Linked DNA regions of Homo sapiens: region 1 is linked to region 2. Evidence: promoter capture Hi-C in human tissues and cell types (Jung and others, 2019). All regions are on one chromosome and are shown on one strand. The core of a region is centred on a gene start or on the middle of the fragment in contact, and the rest is flanking DNA. Distances in the headings are between cores, read along the strand shown. Region 1 has its middle 34 kb from the start of PDCD6IP-DT. Region 2 holds the start of CNOT10 (CCR4-NOT transcription complex subunit 10).

Region 1 (3,881 bases), core at 1,154-3,653, 1.1 Mb after region 2:
TTCCTTTTGGCCTGCATGGTTTTGTATGAGAAATCTGTTGTTTGAATTGTTTTTTTTTCCTACAGGTAAATCATTTCTGTCTTATTGCTTTCAAATTTTTCATTGTCTTTGGTTTTCCGAAGTTTGATTATAATGTGTCTTGGTTATATTTCTTTGTTTTTTTCTGTTTAAGCCTCAATTAGCCTGTGAAATTTATAAGTTTATGTCTTAATGCCAAATTTAGGAAAATTTTAGGCATGAGTTTTTTGAACACTTTTTCAATCTCACACTCTTATTCCTCTCTGATAATACAATTTATTGGTTTTTGTTAAGGTTCCACAGGTCTCTGAGGTTCTATTGATTTTTTTCTTCAGTGTATTTTCTTCATGTTGTTGAAGTTGGTTACATTTTATTGATCTGACTTCAGATTAATTGATTTATTCTTTTGTCTTCCTTAGTCTATTATTGAGCTTATCCTGTGAGTTTTAATATTTTATTGTATTTTTTTCAGTTAAAGGTTTTATTTGGCTCTTCTTTACATATTCTGTTTCTTCACCAAAGCTTTCTACTTTTCATTTGTTTCAAGCATGTTCAAAATTTCTCATCGAGTCATTGTATGATGGCTGCTCTAAAATCCTTGTCAGACAGTTCAAGTGTCTGTGCCGTCTCAGTGTTGCCATCTGTGAATTGTCTTTTCTCATTCTAGTTAAGATCTTCTTGGTTCTTGGAATAATGAATGATTTTTAAAATGCAATCCTGGATACTTTGGTTATTATGTTGTGAGGCTCTGGATCTTATTTAAGTCTTTGGTTTTATCAGGTTTCCTCTGATACTGCACCAGTCAGGGGAAGGTTGATGCGCCTTGTTACTGCCAAGTGGAAGTGAAGGTTCAAGCTTTTCATGTGGTCTCCCCCGAAAATGTGGAGAATGGAGGGGCTTGTTACTGCATGATTAGGGTGACAATCCTAGGTGCCCCACCTGGTCTTCTCTGACACCATCACAGTGTTGGGGGAGGAGGAGAGGAGGAATACCTCATGCCAGCTGGGTGAGAGTGGAAGTCTACAAGGGTGGGGATGGGGACCTCAATTTTTCCTGTGGCATTTCACTACAGTAGGACAATTATTGTCTAAGTTTTCTCTCTTGCTAGGTTTCTCTTGTTCTTTCCCTTGGTGAGAAAGAACAGGCTTTTCTTGGACATTTTTCCCCTTTTATTTATGTCTGTTGGCATTTCTGGTTGCCATATATATATATATATGGTTCAGCCTAATGGCTGGCACATAGTAAGTGCTCGATACAGCATTGAGCTATTATTATTTACAACATAGCATAACCTAGATATAAACCAGATTGTACCAACCCATGGATCAGCAGGCTGTCACTTCTTGTTTCAACGTTTTGCACTATCTAATATATTGCAGAAGACAGTATCTCAAGTCCACTTCTGAATAACCCACACTTGAATCCAACCTTTCCTGTTTGCCACCTTATGGTCTCAATTCTCAGCACCAAAACTGGCCCTTTCCTGCTAGTCACCATTTCCCATATCATAACTGCCCCAGGTAGTTGCAGCCCTCTGCTTCATCAAGTGTTCAAAGATGTCTTGCTTCAGTTTCCCCCACAGCACCTCATATATCAGGCTTACCAAAAGTTTTAGCATATTATTAGAGTATTGTTATAGAAAAAAATAAAACATTAAAACTGTTTACCAAGGCCAAGTGCAGTGGCTTACACCTGTAACCCCAGCACTTTGGGAGGCTGAGGTGGGAGGATTGCTTGAGGCCAGGAGTTTGGGACCAGCTTGGGCAACATAGTGAGACCCTGTCTCTACAAAAAAATAAAAAAATTAGCTGGGCATGCTGATGTGCACGTGTAGTCCCTTCTAATTGGGAAGCTGAGGGGGAGGATGGCTTGAGCCCAGGAGTTTGAGGCTGCAGTGAGCCATGATTGTGCCACTGCTCTCCAGCCTGGGTGACAGAGCGAGACCCTGTTTCAAAAAATAAAATAAAGGCCGGGAGTGATGGCTCACGCCTGTAATCCCAGCACTTTGGGAGGCTGAGGAGGGCAGATCACAAGGTCAGGAGATCGAGACCATCCTGGCTAACACGGTGAAACCTCATCTCTACTAAAAAATGGAAAAAATTAGCTGGTGCGTGGTGGTGGGCACCTGTAGTCCCAGCTACTCGGGAGGCTGAAGCAGGAGGATGGTGTGAACCCGGGAGGCAGAGCTTGCAGTGAGCCTAGATCACGCCACTGCACTCCAGCCTGGGCGACAGAGAGAGACCCTGTCTCAAAAAAATAAAATAAAATAAAATAAAATAAAAATTGTATATCATCAGTCATCATTACTCCTAAATCATCCATACTGTAAAATGTTGATTATTTTGTATCAACTAACACTCTTTGCTTTATTTTTGTCTTTTGCTTTATAGGTTGTTAGAACTGTACTGTTTTCCCTAATAACCTATAAAGCGAAAGACAAAAATTATGGCTATAATTTTTCAAACAGCAATATTTTTTCTTGTCCCTACAATACTAGAAACAGCCTACAACAAGGGAGTATTAAAAATATCTTTAAACAAATTTTTATTTTAGGTTTGGGAGTATATGTGAAGGTTTGTTACATAGATAAACACATGTCATGGGGGTTTGTTGCAGATATTATTATATCACCCAGGTATTAAGCTCAGTACCCAATAGTTACCATTTCTGCTCCTCTTCCCCCTCCCCCCTCCCACCTCAAGTAGACTTCAATCTGTTGAAAAACATCTTTTAAAGTATGTTTTTTTCTGTGTCATTCCACCATGGATTTAAGCATCTTAAGGTAACATCTAATTAATAACTTCCTAAAGGCTTAATTAATAAACAGATGTAAACATCTTAAGACATAACTAATAAATAATTATGTAACTCTAATTTATATAACTTCATATCCTCCAAACAGAGACACATTTTCTTTTTATGTGGCCAAGAAATATTTACAAGGCATGATGAATATAATAGTCCATATAAAATAATCAGGCTGGGCATTTTGGCTCACGCCTGAAAGAAATTGAAGAGGACACCAAAAAATGGAAAAATATTCCAATGTTCATAGATTGGAAGAATAAATATTGTTAAAATATACATACTACTCAAAGCAATCTATAAATTCAATGCAATCTCTATCAAAATACAAGTGACATTCCACATATGTTTACTGCAGCACTGTTCACAATAGCAAAGACTTGGAACCAACCCAAATGCCCATCAATGATAGACTAGATAAAGAAAATGTGGCACATATACACCATGTAATACTATGCAGCCATAAAAAAGGATGCATTCATGTCCTTTGCAGGTATGTGGATGAAGCTGGAAACCATCATTCTCAGCAAATTAACACAAGAACAGAAAACCAAATACCGCATGTTCTCACTCATAAGTGGGAGTTGAACAATCAGAACACATGGACACAGGGAAGGGAACATCACACACTGGGGCCTGTTGGGGGGTGGGAAGCTAGGGGAAGGATAGCATTAGGATAAATACCTAATGTAGATGATGGGTTGATGGGTGCAGCAAACTACCATGGCACGTGTATACCTATGTAACAAACCTGCAGGTTCTGCACATGTATCCCAGAACTTAAAGTATCATTTATAAAAAGACAAAAAGATAAAAAATAATTTGTAAAATATGTTAATGGATACACAATAAAAAGCATGTAATTTGTGACATCAAAAACAAAACAAAAAACAAAATACCCAGTGACATTCTTCACAGAAAGAGAAAAAAAAAATCCCAAAATTTATATGGAACCACAAAAGACCCAGAACAGCAAAGCTATCCTAAGCAAAAAGAATGAAACTGGAGGAATAAAAAGAGCTATAGTAACCAAAACAGCATGGTACTGGAATAAAAAC
Region 2 (3,965 bases), core at 1,276-3,775:
TACTTTCCCAATCCCTCTAGAATAAGCCCAAATTCTATAAGAGATTCCTCCTAATTCCTTTTCATTAAGAGGCTCCCTACTACACTTCAGGTGTGCCTTTTTATTATTTTTTATTCTTTATTTTATTTATTTATTTATTTATTTTTGAGATAGACTTTTGCTCTTGTTGGCCAGGCTGCAGTGCAATGGCACGACCTCGGCTCACTGCAACCTCTGCCTCCCGGGTTCAAACAATTCTCCTGCCTCAGCCTGCCAAGTAGCTGGGATTACAGGCACCCGCCACAACGCCCGGCTAATTTTTGTATTTTTTTTTAGTAGAGACGGGGTTTCACCATGTTGGCCAGGCTGATCTCAAACTCCTGATCTCAGGTAATCTGCCTGCCTCGGCCTCCCAAAGTGCTGGGATTACAGGCATTAGCCACCGTGCCCGGCCAGGTATGCCTTTGCCCAGCCAGGTATGCCTTTTTATGGTGGGCACATATTCATCAAAAGTCATACTAGAGTAATCATATTGGCCCTATTCAAAATAGATAAAATATCCAAATGCCCAACAATAAAATGAATACATAAATTAAGGAATATTCACATAATGTAACATTATAATATATAACAATGAGAAACAAATACAACTTCATTCAACAATGTCAATGAATCTCATACTATCGAGCAAAAGAAGCTAGACCCTAAAAAATATATTGTATAATGTATATACATTAAGTTTAAAAGCAGGTGAAGCTAATCCATAGTGTTAAATGTCAGCATAATGATTATCTTTGTGGAGAGATGGGAAGAGGCATGAGGGGAACTCCCAGATATGGGTAAAGCTCTGCCCTTTCTCTGGGTGCTAGTTATATGTATGTGTTGAGTTGATGAAAAGTCAATACACTGTACTTATGATTCATGCACTTTTCTTTGTGTATGTTAGCCTGAATTAAAAAGTTTAAGAAAAAACAAATACTTTTTTTTTTTTTTGAGACAGAGTCTCACTCTGTTGCCCAGGCTGGAGTGCAGTGGGGCAATCTTGGCTCACTGCAATCTCCGCCTCCCGGATTCAAGGGATTCTCCTGCCTGAGCCTCCCAAGTAGCTGGGATTACAGGTGCACACCACCACGCCCAGCTAATTTTTGTATTTTTAGTAGAGACGGGGTTTCACCATGTTGGCCAGGCTGGTCACAAACTCCTGACCTCAAGTGATCCACTTGCCTTGGCCTCCCAAAGTGCTGGGATTGCAGGTGTGAGCCACCACGCCCGGCCAAAAACAAATACTTTTTTAAAAGAAAGTTTAAAACAAAAGTTAAAAAAAAAGAAAAAAACAGGTACAAACCTGAAAAATCTCCCAATTAACAAAGCTGGGACAATTTTAGCAACAAAATAATGTAGTATTGGAATGTAACCATTATAAGATAAACATCCATGAGTCCATACTGATATAAATAGCTAAGTGAGGGAGAAGAGGCAAACTTCCCTTGGGGAAGATAATTTATGTACATACTCCCCACTGCAGGAGGTAGAGCTTAAATACCCCGCCTTCCCACCTTGAGTGTGGGTTGCATTTATTGACTTGGTTCCAAAGTAGTGTGGAAGGGTAGGAGGAGTAATTGCACAGTAGAGAAAACTGGCAAGCACTACCTTAGAGAGGTAATCAAGGTTAACATGATCAGTGATGTCATTTTGACAGCATGTACCCTTGATTCTATGTGATGAGAACAGCCAGTCACCTTGTGGTCTTCCTCCTAAACACCCAAAACCCCAGTCTAACCATGAGAAAAATATTGGCCAAACCCAAATTGAGGCACATTCCACCAAATATCTGAGGAGTAACTCTTCAAAACTGTCAAGGTCATCAAAAACAAGAAGAATCTGAGAAACTGCCACAGCCAAAAATAGCCTAAGACGACATAATGAATAAATGCAATATGGTGTCCTGGACAGGATCCTGGAACAACAACAAAAAAAGGACATTGAAAGAAAGCTGGTAAATGTGAATAAAATGTGTAGTTTAGTGAGTAATAGTGCGCCAATCAAACTGGTTTCTTAGATGTGATCAACGTAACATAGTAAAATAATTAAGATGTTCACAATAGGAGAAACTAGGTGAGGAGACAGGAACTCTAGGTGTCATCTTTGCAACTTTTCTGCACAACTACAACTATTCTAAAATAAAAGGCGTTTCTTTTTAAACGGGAATCCTCAACAGCGCCTCTCTCATGGGGTTGCAAGAAATCAATGAGATAGTACAGACCAAGTGCAGGGCTCAGTGCTTAGCACATAAATGTCAGATGTGGTTATTGTAATATTATGTAACATTGAGGGACAAAAGCTCTGACACCTCGGTGTTTTAATTAGAGTAAGCAAAGGACAGACGCGCGTACGTCCCACCGCGTCAGCCCTGTGAACATCCAGAGGTTCCAGCCAGAGTACGTCCGGCCGGAGGCGGGGCGCGGAGGGGACGTCGGCGTGGGGCGGGGCCAGTAGCAGTTCCCACGCCGGCGCTCCAGGCGCGGCAGGCTGCCGCCCCCGGAAGTAGTGGGTACCGGGACGCCGTGAGGCGGAAGCTGTGTATGGCGGGAGGCTGTGGCGGTCCCTTGGTGGGGAAGCTGTTGCTGTTGCTAGACGACGGGAACTAGCTCTCGTCACTTCCTCAGCCCGCCGTCTGCCCACTCCTCTAGCCGGAACCTGGGGGCCCGGAGCCGGGGTAGGCACAGAGTTGTCCTCGGAGGTCCAGGACAGCGGCCAGCCCGGCGGCGGGAGTCAGGGCCACGCCACCTGCAGGGAAGAACCCGAGTCGAAGCGGGAAGATGGCTGCAGACAAGCCTGCAGGTAGGGCGCCAATGTCCCGAGCGACGAGACGGCGGGACGTGCGGGGCCGGGCGGACCCTGAACTCGGAGGCGGCGGGGCCCGGGGTGGGGACTCCAGGGCGACTTGAATTTGGGCGTGCATTTCTTTACCCCATCCTCTGTCTCGGCTGTCGCTAACATGAGTCTTCGGGCCCCGGGTCCAATAGTTGTTTTACTCAAGTGCAGTATTTGAAGTCGCCACTGGCCGCCTTTGCCCTGCTCTTCAGAATAACTCCGGCCCAAAAAGCTTAAATGTATTTTGCCGCTTCGCAGAATTTTCCGCTTCTTCGTGGGAAAAGCAGACAAGAGAAAGTCACCCTGGAGCACACATCTGCCTATAATATCGCGTGGCTGAGGCTGGGATTCACCTGGGCTGTTTTGACCACATGTGGCTTCCTCTGGTCATTGACTCCTGTGAAATTAACTTTGTAAAAACCACTTTTTTTTTTCTTGATAGAGACGGGCGGGGGTCTCGCTATGGTGCCCAGGCTGATCTCGAACTTCTGGGCCCAAGCGATCCTTCCGCCTTGGCCTCTCAAAGTAAACCACTTATTTAAAAAGGCATAAAATCCTATTGTCTCTCTACAGTCTGTGCTCCTAAAATCTTGCATTTGGTACTTAATTGCTCTAGTTCCTCGAAATTACTTAATCTCAATGGTTTTCTTTATGGATTATTGCTCCCATTCCTAGAATCTTCCACATTAAGGAATATAAAATTATTTCCTGACCTTGTCCGGAATGTTTCCCGCAAGAAATTCATATTCTTTGTGGCATCCAGGTTTTATTGGAAAGAACTTAAGTGACAGGATTTAAAAGTGATGGAACTTAAAATTTTTACAGTGAATTTAATTTAAAATTAAAGAAAAACTCAGTGTGCTGTGGATTTTAGTAGGTTCTGGTCACAATAACTGACAAATGAACTTCACTTGGAAATTAAGCCAATTCTATTTTAGGTACAGAGGAATAAAAATCATTAGAGGATCTCTTCAATAATCTAAGAAGAAAAACAACAGAACAAAGGCCTTGAGAGGGTATAAGGAATGTGCTGTGAAATTTTGGATAGGTTGTTCAGGGAAGGCCTCTGGTGAGATGATATTTGAGCAGAGATATGTAAGAAGTGAGGGAAT

What was found. The method cuts DNA at HindIII sites, captures the fragments that hold promoters and counts their contacts. A contact is called where the count stands out against the background at its distance.
Region 1: a contact is called between a fragment that was not itself captured here and the fragment with the promoter of CNOT10 in region 2, in 1 of the 25 tissues and cell types used here (bladder).

Annotation. Positions count from the first base shown.
Region 1 is chr3:33,762,650-33,766,530 of GRCh38, forward strand. No RefSeq gene overlaps it. Among named protein-coding and RNA genes, the nearest start is that of PDCD6IP-DT, 34 kb to the right of the region's middle. The HindIII fragment of the contact is 7,177 bases long and covers 1-3,881 here.
Region 2 is chr3:32,682,663-32,686,627 of GRCh38, forward strand. It overlaps CNOT10 (CCR4-NOT transcription complex subunit 10), which reads left to right and starts at 2,526. Exons shown (of 19, transcript NM_015442.3): 1 at 2,526-2,820. The coding sequence starts at 2,799. RefSeq lists a silencer at 2,327-2,636. The HindIII fragment of the contact is 8,061 bases long and covers 1-3,965 here.